Regions from separate parts of the Homo sapiens genome. Here regions 1 and 2 are each linked to region 3. Evidence: promoter capture Hi-C in human tissues and cell types (Jung and others, 2019). All regions are on one chromosome and are shown on one strand. The core of a region is centred on a gene start or on the middle of the fragment in contact, and the rest is flanking DNA. Distances in the headings are between cores, read along the strand shown.

Evidence for each region. Contacts are between HindIII fragments. The study calls those that stand out against the background at their distance.
Region 1: a contact is called between a fragment that was not itself captured here and the fragment with the promoter of LGALS13 in region 3, in 1 of the 25 tissues and cell types used here (bladder).
Region 2: a fragment that was not itself captured here is called in contact with the fragment with the promoter of LGALS13 in region 3 in 2 of the 25 tissues and cell types used here (H1 embryonic stem cells and lymphoblastoid cells).

Annotation. Positions count from the first base shown.
Region 1 is chr19:39,662,391-39,666,580 of GRCh38, forward strand. No RefSeq gene overlaps it. Among named protein-coding and RNA genes, the nearest start is that of LGALS16, 8.6 kb to the left of the region's middle. The HindIII fragment of the contact is 4,209 bases long and covers 352-4,190 here.
Region 2 is chr19:39,560,082-39,564,277 of GRCh38, forward strand. No RefSeq gene overlaps it. Among named protein-coding and RNA genes, the nearest start is that of EID2, 22 kb to the left of the region's middle. The HindIII fragment of the contact is 4,623 bases long and covers 1-4,157 here.
Region 3 is chr19:39,600,300-39,604,869 of GRCh38, forward strand. It overlaps LGALS13 (galectin 13), which reads left to right and starts at 2,225. Exons shown (of 4, transcript NM_013268.3): 1 at 2,225-2,284; 2 at 4,303-4,379. The coding sequence starts at 2,270. The HindIII fragment of the contact is 10,640 bases long and covers 1-4,570 here.

The DNA of each region.
Region 1 (4,190 bases), core at 1,206-3,705, 62 kb after region 3:
ACTTGAACCCAGGAGAAGGTGCTTGCAGTGAGCTAAGATTATGCCATTGCACTCCAGCCTGGGTGACAAGAGCTAAACTCCATCTCAAAACAAAACAAAAAGAAATCTAAATATAATTGAGTTGAATATTTGAATTTTTTATTGACATTTCAAATTAGATTATAATTCAATTTAAAAGAGCATCTCATAGAAGCAGATGTACTCAATTATGTTAACGCTGTGGTTTCATGTAAGCAATTTGTTTTGTGAAGGGACACAAATCCAACCAGATTTTAACAGTGTATAAATATGTATGTATTAATTTAATTACAATGACAATACTCTCAACTCCCCATTTGAATAAAGGAGAGCATCTGATCTCTGTTCTGGGGCACCGTGCACTATAGGTGTGTGGAAATACAGATGCCCTCAGCTGTGGGGTAGGCTCAGTGGGACCTGGAGTGCTGGAGCCCCTGGGCCATTCACCTCTGGCTACAAAAGTCATTGTCTATTTATCCCCAGCTGCTATAGAAATATTATTTTCAGTGGCTGTCATGATGCAAAAGAAAAGAAGCATGGAGATTTATTAAACCTTTACATATAAGTTATGTTAGTAAATAAAGTGAACTTTCTTCTGGCTTAACTAAAAAATCTATAGTAGTATTTATGCCTTTTGGAAAATAGAGATGGCAATTTAAATATTATGAAGCAAAGCAACTGATTATCAGGTAAGACAACCAACTACAACTGCAGAATTGTAGAGGTTATGGGTTAAATGTATAAGAATATTTCATAGCAATAATCTTTTAAGACTATGCAAGAGACTCCACAGTGGAGTAGAAATTAGAACAGAATTAATAATACTGTGTATGCTCTCAGTTCACCAATTTATCAAAACTAGCTTTATGATGCAGGAGGGTGTCTGCCCTTTTGCAATTGGAAGAAAAGAAAGAATATTTCATTTTTCGACTCTTTAGATTTTCTTCACTAACAGTATTTCCACAGCTAAGTAAGGGATTTGCAAGTAGCATCAAGAGAAAAAAGCAGGCTTGAGCAGCTTTTAAAATATGGTCTTAAAATATGGAAATTGGAGCCATGTGTGGTGGCTCACACTTGTAATCCCAGCACTTTGGGAGCCTGAGGTGGGAGGATTGCTTGAGGTCAAAAGTTTGAGACCAGCCTAGGCAGCATAGCAAGATCCCCATCGTTACAAAAAATAATAATTTTTTAAAAAATCAGCTGGATGTGGTGGTGCATGCCTTAGAGTCCTAGTTACTTGGGCGGCTGAGGTAGGAGGAGCTCTTGAGCCCAAGAGTTCAAGTCTGCAGTGAGCTACAATTGCACCACTGTACTCTAGCCTGGGAAACAAAGTGAGACTCTCTCTCTCTCTCTCTCTCTCTCTCTCTCTCTCTCTCTCTCTATATATATATATATATATATATATATATATATATACACATACACACACACACACACATACATACATATATATGTATGTATATATACACATATATATGTATGTATATATACACATATATATGTATGTATATATACACATATATATGTATGTATATATACACATATATATGTATGTATATATATACATACATATACATACATATATATGTGGAAAAGGGAAGGGGCCAAGAATGTCAAAGACATTATTAAAGAAAAGGAAAGATTTCTCCTGCCAAATATCAGAAGTTTTATAAAGCTACAGCAATTAAGATAGTGTGGTCTTCATTGATAAACTGACCAATGAAACAGAATAGAGAGCTCCCAAACAAATCTCCACAAATTTAATATTTGATATGTGATGCAGGTGACATGGCAGATCAGCAAAGAAAGAAAGGACTTTTCAATACATAGGAAAGAAAAATAATGGTTACTGATATAGGAAACAAAATGAAATTATATTCCTTCTTCGCTCTATATACAAACATTAAATTCCAGATGGACCAAAGACTTATGTGTCAGAAACAAAACTTTAAAACTTTTAGTAGAAAATGTAAGTGAATGAGACACAAAAAGCCATTTAACCATTAAAAAAGATTAGATGTTTTGACTATCACAAAATTGAGAACTTTTTACATCAAAAAGTGAAAAGATAAGCTGGGCATGGTGTCTCAAGCCTGTAATCCCAACAGTAGATCACCTGAGGTCAGGAGTTTGACACCAGGCTGGCCAACATGGTGAAACCCTGTCTCCACTGAAAATATAAGAAATTAGCCAGGCATTGGTGGCAGACACTAGCAATCCCAGCTACTTGGGAAGCTGATGCACGAGAATCTTCTGAACCCGGGAGGTGGAGGTTACAGTGAGCCACTGCACTCCAGCCTGAATGGCAGAGTGAGACTCTGTCTCAAAAAAAAAGTAAAAATTAAAAAATAAAAGTAAAAAAGTGAAAAGATAAACTATAAACTAGAAGAAGATATTTGCAGTACCTAAAACCTATGAAAGATTAATATCAAATCAACAAAGTATAAGGAGTTCCTATGAATTAATTTTAAAAATAGCATCCCAAAAGAAAATTGGGAAAAGACATTAATAGGGATTTCACAAAAGAGAATGCCCCCAAAACATAAAAATTTTCTCATCCTCATTAGTAATCAAGAAAATGCACAAGATACTACATATCTATTCGCTCCACAAATATTAAGAAGTTTGACAATACCAAATGTATTAGTCGACATTCACGCTGCTGATAAAGACATAACTGAGACTGGGAAGAAAAAGAGGCTTAATGGATTTATGGTTCCACATGGCCAAGGAGGCCTCAGAGTCATAGCAGTGGATGAAAGGCACTTCTTACATGGCAGTGGCAAGAGAATATGAGAAGGAAGCAAAAGACGAAACCCCTGATAAACCCATCAGATCCTGTGAGACTTATTCACTATAACAAGAATAGCATGGGAAAGACCAGCCCAAGGGATTCAACTACCTCCCCCTGGGTCCCTCCCTTAACACATGGGAATTCTGAGAGATACAATTGAAGCTGAGATGTGGGTAGGTACATAGCCAAACCATATTAATCTGCTCCTGGCCCCTCCAAATCTCATGTCCTCACATTTCAAAACCTATCATGCCTTCCCAACAGTCCCCCAAAGTCTTAACTCATTTCAGCATTAACCCAAATGTCTGCTGTCCAAAGTCTCATCTGATAAAAGGCAAGTCTCTTCTGCCTATGAGCCTGTAAAATCCAAAGCAAGCTAGTTACTTCCTAGATACAATGGGGGTACAGGTAATTGAGTAAATACAGCTGTTCCAAATGGGAGAAATTGGCCAAAACAAAGGGGTTACAGGCCCCATGCAAGTCCTAAATCCAGCCAGGTAGTCAAATTTTAAAGCCCCAAAATGATCTCCTTTGACTCCATGTTTCACATCAAGGTCATGCTGATGCAAGAGGTGGACTCCCATGGCCTTGTGTAGTTCTGCCCCTGTAGCTTTGCAGGGTATAGCCCACCTCCTGGCTGTTTTCATGGGCTGATGTTGAGTGTCTGAAGCTTTTCCAGGCTCATGGTGCAAGGTATCTGGGGTCTGGAGGACAGTGTCCCTCTTCTCACAGCTCCACTAGGAAGTGCTCCAGTAGGGACTCTGTGTAGGGGCTCTGATCCTTCCACATTTCCCTTCCACATGGCCCTAGCAGAGGTTCTCCATGAGAGCCCCACCCCTGTAGCAAACTTCTGCTTGGACATCCAGGCGTTTTCATACATCCTCTGAAATCTAGGTGGAGGTTTCCAAATCTCAATTCTTGACTTCTGTGCAGTTGCAGGCTCAACACCAGGTGGAAGCTGCCAAGGCTTGGTGCTTGCACTCTCAAAGCCATGGCCTGAGTTCTATGTTGGCCCCTTTCAGCCATGGCTGGAGTGGCTGAAACACAGAGCACCAAGGCCCTAGGCTACACACAGCACAGTGATCCTGGGCCCGGCCCACAAAACCATTTTTTCCTTGTAGGCCTCTGGGCCTGTGATGGGAGGGGCTGCTGTGATGATCTCTGACATGCCCTGTAGACACTTTCCCCATTGTCTTGGGGATTAACATTCAGCTTCTCACTACTTATGTGAATTTCTTCAGGCAGCTTGAATTTATCCTCAGAAAATGGCATTTTCTTTTCTATCACATTGTCAGGCTGCAAATTTTCCAAACTTGTATGCTCTGCTTCCTTTATAAAACTGAATGTCTTTAACATCATCTGAGTCTCCTCTTGAATA
Region 2 (4,196 bases), core at 596-3,095, 41 kb before region 3:
GGGAGAAAACAATGTCACCGCTATGTGTAAGTTGAAAGGCACGGCCTTCAATAACCTCAAGTCACATAAACCGAGAAAGAAGCATAGACGATTTTATGAGATGAAAACATGATCACATTGGATGAAATATTCTGTAAGTATCTATTAAATCCATTTCTTCTATAGTAGGGATTAACGTTCTTTGTTTGTATTGTCTGGAAGACCTGTCCAATGCTGAAAATGAAACATAGAAATCTCCAGCTATTATTGTATTGGGGCCTATCTCTCTCTTTAGTTCTAATAATATTTCCTTTATATACCTGGGTGCTCCACTCTTTGGTGCACATATATTTAAAACTGTTATATCTTCTTGCTGAGTTGATGTCTTATTCATTATATATTGACTTTATTGTCTCTGCTTAGAGTTTTTGTCTCAAAATATATTTTGTCCAATATAAATATAGCTACACCTGTTTTGTTTCATTTCTATTAGCATGGAACATCTTTTTCTATTTCTTTATCTTCGGTATATGTGTGCCTTTATAGGTGAAGTGTGTTTCATGTAGGCAACAGATCAATTGTTTTTGTTTTTTCATCCATTCAGCCACTCTATGTGTTTTGATTGGAGAGTCTAGTCCATTTTCATTCAATGTTTTCATTGATAATTAAGTAAAGACTTAGTCCTGCCATTTTGGTGTTTGATTTCTAGCTGTATTTTGGTCTTCTCTTCCTTTGTTTCTTACTATCTTTCCTTACTGAAGATAATTTTGTCTGGCGATACAATTTAGTTTCTTGCTTTTTATGGTTTGTGTTTTTTTTTGTGAATCCATTGTATGTTTTCTGGTTCAAGGTGACCATGAGGCTTGCAAATACTATTTTATAACCCATTATTTTAACATGATAGCTACTTAACACCCTTTACTTAAAAAAAACAAGCAACAAGAAAACTTATAGAAACTCTATACTTTAACTTCATCCCCCCGCCTTTTAACTTTTAGTTATTTCTGCCTATATCTTATTTTACTGTGTATATCTTCAAAAGTTGCAGTTATTATTATTATTATTGGTTCATTGTTTAGTCTTTCTATTTAGGAAATGAGTAGTTTACACATCACGGTTACAGTGTTATAATATTGTGTGTGTTTCCACTAAAAAATCTGCTGCCAGGTGTATTGCAGCTGCATTGTATGCTATTTTTTTTCTTTGGGGCTTGCAGGATTTTTTCTTTGCTCTTGACCTTTGAAAGTTTGATTATTAAGTAGCTTGAATTAGTCTTCTTTGGGTTAAATTGTCTTGGTGTTCTATAACCTGCTTGTACTTGGATATTGATCTCCTTTTCCAGGTTTGGGAAGTTCTCTGTTATTATTCTTTTAAATAAACTTTCTACCACTATTTCTTTCTCTACTTTTTCTTTAAGGCCAGTAACTCTTAGGTTTGCCTTTTTGAAGCTATTTTTCTAGATCCTATAGCCATGTTTCATGGCTTCATTGTTTTTTACTCCTTCTTCTTTTGTCTCCTCTGGCTGTGTGTTTCAAATAGCCTGTCTTCAAGCTCACTAATATTTTCTTCTGCTTGATCAATTCTGCTGTTAAAAGACTGATGCATTATTCAGTATGCCAATTGCATTTTTGTATTTTATTTTGCTTTATGTTCTGGGATACATGTGCAGAACATGCAGGTTTGTTTCATAGGTAAACATGTGCCATTGTGGTTTGTTGCACCTATGAACCTGTCACCTATGTATTAAGCTCCACATGTATTAGCTGTTTGTCTTGATGCTCTCCCTCTCTTTGCCCCCACCAACAGGCCCCAGTGTGTATTGTTTCCCTCTCCGTGTCTGTGTGTTCTAACTGTTCAGCTCCCATTTATGAGTGAGAACGTGCAGTGTTTGGTTTTCTGTTCCTATGTTAGTTTGCTGAGGATGATGGCTTTGAGCTTCATCCATGTCCCTGCAAAGGGCACGATATCATTCCTTTTTATGGCTCCATTTCTCAGCTCCAGAACTATTGTTTGAGTCCTTTTAATTATTTTAAACTTTTCGGTTAACTTATCTAATAAAATTCTGAATTCCTTCTCTGTGTTATCTTGAATTTATTTGAGTTTTCTTAACACTGCTAAATTAAATTTCCTGTCTGAAAGGTCTCTGCTTCTCCCTGGTGCTTATTTAGTTTATTTGGGGAGATCATGCTTTCCTGGATAGTGTTGACACTAGCAGATGTTCTTCAGTGTCTGATCATTGAGTAATTAGGTATTTAGAGTGGTCTTCACTGTCTAGGCTTATTTGTACCTGTCCTTTTTTTGAAGGCATACCAGATATTCCAAACACTTGAATGTTTTGATTTAAGCTGTATCTCCTTTGGGGTGAACTAAAAACCAGTAATGTTGTGATTCTTGCAGACTCATACAGTTACCACCTTGATGATCTTGGACAAGTTCCAGGATAATTCTCTGGATTACAATGCGGAGACTTTTGCCCTTTTCCCTTTCTTTCTCCCCCCAAAAAAACAGTGTGTGTGTGTGTGTGTGTGTGTGTGTGTGTGTGTGTGTTTTGAGACACCTAAAGCTGGGGATAGACTAATAAAAGCACCGTTGTGGTCACCACCACTATGACTGGGTCAGACCTGAATCCAGTATAGCACTGGATCTCACTGAAGGCCTTCTGTATCCACTCCCTGGTTGCAACCTAAGTTCACTCAAGGCCCTGGGACTCTGGAAGCAGCAGATGGCAGAGCAAGCCAGGTCTGTGTGCATTCCTTCAGGGCGGTGAGTTCCCCTAGGCCTTGGGTGGGTCCAGAGGTGCCACCTGAAAGTTGGGGACTAAAGTCAAAAACCTTAGAAGTCTGTATGGTGCTTTTATTTTACTGCAGCAGAGCTGGCACTCAAACCACAAGATGCAGTTCTTCCCACACTCCTCTTTCCAAAGGCAGTGGTCACCCCATAACCATTGCCACAATGAAGAGTATGGCCAGACTACCACAGATGTTTCCTTAAGGCCCACAGTCTCTTAAGTCAACTCATAGTGAATGCTGCCAGGCCCAGGACTCATTCCACAGGGCAATGAACTCCGTCTGGCCCAAAGCAGGTAAATAGATGTCATCCAAGAACCAAGTCCCTGAATTAGGGGTCCCAAGAGCCTGCTTGGTGCTCTACTCCCTTGTGGCCATGCAGGTACCTAAGGTGCAAGATGAAGTCCCTTTTGCTTTTTTCTCTGCTTTTACCAAGCAGAAAGAGTTTTTCCTCATAGCCACCACAACTGGTAATGTGCTGTGTCCCATCTGAAGCCAGCAGATCTTAGAAGCTCATCCAAGACCCTCAGCATAGTACCTGGGTATTGCTGATACCATTAGCAGGTGATAACTCTCCTCTCCTCAAGTGAAAGGAAGGGGTCTCTTTTAGAGCCACAGACTGTGCATCCTGGAGTTAAGTGAGGGGTAAAGCCAGCACTCCATTAGTCACCAAAGCTGCTGTCTCAGTAAGTCACCTGACCCCCTCTTCACCAGTCCATTGTCTCTGGGCCCAGTTCAACCCCATGACTCACCTAAGAATTTCTGGCCTTATGGCCTAGACTGCCTTTTAAGCTTACTTGAAAAACCAGAGTACCGTAGCTCTCACTGGCAAGGTTTGCAGGAACTCAAGTTTCAACCGCTGGGATCAGGGATTTTCCTCTGGCTAAGCCTGGCTTAAATGCTCCCTCCATTGGTGTGTGTCAGCTGAGTTTGATCCAATTTGCCTTTCTTCTGTAACAGGACAGCAATGACTTCAATACCTCACAATTGCTGTGCTCTCCTCCCTCCAGTACCCCAGTACCCAGAGACTCTGTACCACATTCCTGCTGCCTGGATGAAGGACTGGCATTGGCAATTCAAGACGTTTTTTTCTATCTCTTCAGTGATATAGAGTTAAAACCAGGTATCTATGAGGATTCACCTGCTTTTGGTTTTTATGAAGGTGTTTTTCTTGTGTAGATACTTGTTAAATTTATGTCCTTGAGGCGTGGGGGTAAGATTGGTGGAGCACTCTATTGTGCCATGTTGCAAGGTCTCCCCAATTTAAATTTTGATGAAATCCAGTTTATCTGTTTTTTCTTTTGTTTCTTGTGCTTTTGGAATCATATCCAAGAAATCGTTTTAAGATCCTATGTCATGAAATATTCTTCGATGTTTTTTCTAAAAATATTAAAATTCTAGGTCTTACATTTATTGTTTGATACATTTTGA
Region 3 (4,570 bases), core at 975-3,474:
ATTCAAGAAATGGTGCTGGGAGAACTGGCTAGCCATATGCAGAAGATTGAAACTGGACCCCTTCTTTACACCATATACAAAAGATAGATTAAAGACTTAAAAGATTAAACCCAAAACTATAAACATCCTGGAAGACAACCTAGACAATACCATGTGGGACATAGGCATGAGAAAAATTTCATGATGAAGATGTCAAAGGCAATTAGGAGAAAAGCAAAAATTGACAAACAGAATCTAATTAAACTAAAGAGCTTCTGTACAGTGAAGGAAACTATCAAGAGAGTAAACAGACAGCCTAAGGAATGGGAGAAAATGTTCTCAAACTATGTATCTGAAGAAGGTCTAATATCCGAGCATTTATAAGAAATTTCAACAACTTCACGAGAAAGAAACAAACAAACCCATAAAAAAGTGGGTAAAGAGCTTGACACAGTGGCTCATGCCTGTAATCCCAGCGCTTTGGGCAACCAAGGCTGGTGGATCACTTGAGCCCAGGAATTTGAGAACAGGCTGGGTAACATGGCAAAAACCCATCTCTACTAAAAATAGAAAAAAAAAATAGCCTAGCATGGAGACATGCACCTGTAGTCCCAGCTACTCAGGAGACTGAGCTTAGAAAAATCACCTGAGCCCCGGAGCCAGAGGTTACAGTGAGCCAAGATGGTGCCACATCACTCCAGCCTGAATGTCAGAGTGAGACCTGTTTTAAAACAACAACAAAAAAGTTGAGCAAAGGACACGAACAGACACTTTTCAAAAGTAAGGATACAGGTGGCCAAAAAACATATAAAAAAGCTCAATATCACTGAACATTAGAGAAATGCAAATCAAAACCACAGTGAGATACCATCTCACACCAGTCAGAATGGCTGTTATTAAAAAGTCAAAAAAGGACAGATGCTTCAAGGTTGTGGAGAAAAGGGAGAACTCACACATTGTTGGTGACAGTGTAAATTAGTTCACCCATTGTGGAAAGCAGTGTGGTGATTCCTCAAAGAGCTAACAATAGATCTACCATTCAACCCAGCAATCCCATCACTGGGTGTATACCCAGAAGAAAAGAAATCATTCTGCCATAAAGACATATGCACATGAATGTTCATTGCAACACTATGCACAATAGCGAAGACACAGAATGAACCCAAATGCCAATCAATGACAGATCGGTTACAGAAAATGTGGTACATGTACACAATGAAATACTATGCAGTCCTAAAAAAGAATGATATTATGTCTTTTGCAGGAACATGGATGGAACTGGAGGCCATTATTCTTAGCAAACTAATGCAGGAACAGAAAACCAAATACTGCATGTTCTCACTTATCAGCGTGAACTAAATGAGGAGGCTCATGGACATCAAGAGGGAAACAACACACACTGGGGCCTCCTTGAGGGTGGAGGATGAAAGGTGGAAGAGGAGAAAAAAAATAACTTTTGAGTACTACACTTAGTAACCAGGTGAAGAAATCATATACACCACAAATCCCATGACACGACTTTATCTGCATATGTACCCCGAACCTAAAATAAAATGAAAGAAAAATCAAATAAAAACAACAATCTCACCTTCCTCCCAGAATCTGCAGGAGAAACAGTGTCTCTGAAACTTTTATTTACATGGACACCAAGAGAAAGGAGAGGGTGTAGCTAGAGCCCAGGTGTGTGACAGTCAGGTGAGAGTGGCCCTTACCTGGCAGAGCCAAGCAGCCTAGTGTGGAATAGGTTCATGCAAGAAATTTCTCTGCTTCTCTCCACAGATCCTCCTGAGGATCAAGGTCAGTGCTCTCCCAGAACGTTCAAAAGCAGAGAGAATCATTACCTTCTAGGGCTAATGTATTTCCCCAAAATCTCCAACTTTTTTCTTTTCAGCCGTTGTACAAATTGGGAAAATGTACACTTTCTGGGTATATTCTGCATAGATGAGAAAAGGCTTGAGAGGCATAAAGGCTGGGCTTTACAACCACTACCGCTCACTCCATCATCTTTATCTATGCATTTCCCTGGTAACCCAATCCACAGCCTGGTAACTCCCCCACTGTCACTTCTGCTGCATTACAGATACAGACCTGCAAATAGCTATGGTTGTGACTGAGTTTCTTCCTAACAACTAAACCTGTCTAAAGCTGCAAGGAAATCTTGCTGGGAGGAGCTTGGAATCTGGAATGAAGCCCGAGGGCAAGGCTGAAGTGGGTCATTTAAATGCTGCAACTCAGAGATTCACTCAGAAGACTGGACTCAATTCTGAAGGTCGCCAAGAAGGAGAGAACAATGTCTTCTTTACCCGTGAGTTGAAAAGGCACAGCCTTCAAAAATTTCGTGTCACACAAACCAAGAAAGAAATGGGAGATTTTATGAGATGAAAATATGAGCATTTTTGCTGTGAATGCTTTACTTAGAGCTATTGAGGTGTGGAATAGAAACCCTGAGGCTATGGTATCTGAGATGCTTGTGGGGATTGCGGTGTGGACCCTGGACCAGTGTAACCTTCGGTGAGTGTGAGGTGGTGTCTGATGAGCATAAACTCTGCGGAGATAATGTGACTTTAAGTGGGAGGTGGATTACCCACCAGGACGAGCAGGTGTGTGAATGGAGAGTAAAGGGGTGAGTCGGCTTTGTTTCCTGTCTATGATGTGAGTATGTGTGTGAGCACAGCCAGACCAGTGCATGAGCATCGTTATGTGCACAGTGAGCAGGTGTGTGTGACGCAGTGAGTGGTGTGGCTCTGTGTGACTGTGAGTGTGTGTGCTGGGATGTGACTGTATGTTGAAGTGGGATCATGCATGTGGCTTTCTTCACATGTGAATGTTTCTCCCCACACAGCAGCACCTCTGATGTGAATCCCATGTGGCTTAACTGGTGGGGATCTTGGGGATTGTGAGTTACCAAGGACTTATTTCAGATCACTTGTGAGAGCAGAATGTATGATCAGTAGATGTCTCTTCCCAGTAAGAGTGGGGAAGAGGAATGCAGACTATGGGGGTGATGGTTCCTCAGGTGGGGTCTGCACAGAGTGACCACTGTCTCTTGCCTCCCAGGCTCAGCTTGCCTGTCCCTAGCCCATCCAGTTCTTCCCACTGTGTGACAGGAGGGTGTGCAGATACTGGTTTGTTAGGGAAGGACATTAGAGGCCGTGATTTCAGAGACTGAATCACACAAAATATCCACTGTAAGCTCTGTCTGAACTGAGACTAAACTTGTTCTACACCCATGAAAGAACAAGTTAAGTCTCAGTTCAGAAGGAGCTTACAGTGGATATTAATCAACCAAGCAGCTGGGTTCACTGGCTTATGGCTATAATCCCACCAATTTTGGAGGCAAAGATGAGAGGATAACGAGGCCAGAAGTTTGAGACCAGTCTGGGTATCAGAGTGAGACCCTTTCTTTAAAAAACTTTAAATATTTGACTGGCAGAGAGGCAGGTACCTTTCTTCCCAGCTATTCAAGAGGGAGCAGATGTGTGAGATTCACTGCAGCCCAGGAGTCTGAGGTTTCAGTGAACCATGATTGCATCCCTGCATGTCAGCCTGGGTGACAGAGCAAGAACCTATCTCAAAAGTACAGAAAAATCATCTCATCTACTTGTAGTCATCATAGAAATCAATCATTCCCTCCAGTTATGTCCCTGACCCACAAGCTTCATTTGTGCAAGTACTGGGGCTGTGCTCTCAGTAGTGTGTGCCCCTTCTTGGAAGGATGTCCATGGCCCTTGATGATAGTGATGCATGTGCATCCCACACACAGGGGTTTCCTGTTCTTTCATCATTTCCCTCTCCCTTTCAACAAGTGTTGTTTCTCACTGGAGTGAATGTTTAAATTCTTACATTTACAAGTCTTGTTTTAATTTTCAGAGTTGAAAATGAAGGCAGGTCAGTCTTTCAAGAGGACTCTCCTGTCCTGTTAGGTCACCCTAAGAGGCCCTACGCATGACAGGGATTAGGGTAACACTTTTACATGTATTAACTCCCTATTACGGAGAACATCCTACAAAGTAGAAATTCCTGATAATCCTCGTTGTCCTAGGGAAAATGAGGGAGAGTTCAAGTAGCAAATCTAAGACTGCACTGCTAGTAAAAGGCAGAATGAGGACTGGAATCCAGGCATCCTGGCTCCTGAACCCTTGCTCTAACTTATGGGTCCGCCATATCTTCAGGAATATGGGGCCCTGAATGCGGTAGGGTTAAAGAGGAGAGTCCACAGAGTCTGCCCTTTCATCTCCAACCTCCTGCACCATGAGAATATGTTACAGGAGGGGAGACTGCACCTGACCCTGCACCTCTCACTTACTCTCAATACTCTGGCAGGTGCCATACAAACTGCCTGTGTCTTTGTCTGTTGGTTCCTGCGTGATAATCAAAGGGACACCAATCCACTCTTTTATGTGAGTACTCCATGGTCCAATGGAGGGGTTGGAGAAGAAGGGAGAATATTTGCGAAGATTTGACCTTACATGTGGGTGATGTGGAAATGTCTAGTTGGCAGAATGGAGGCCCCATGCAGGTGCAGGTCTTGGAGACCCTCCAGCACCAGGCATGAGACCCACAGCAACTGCATGTGGGCCAGCCATGGGGC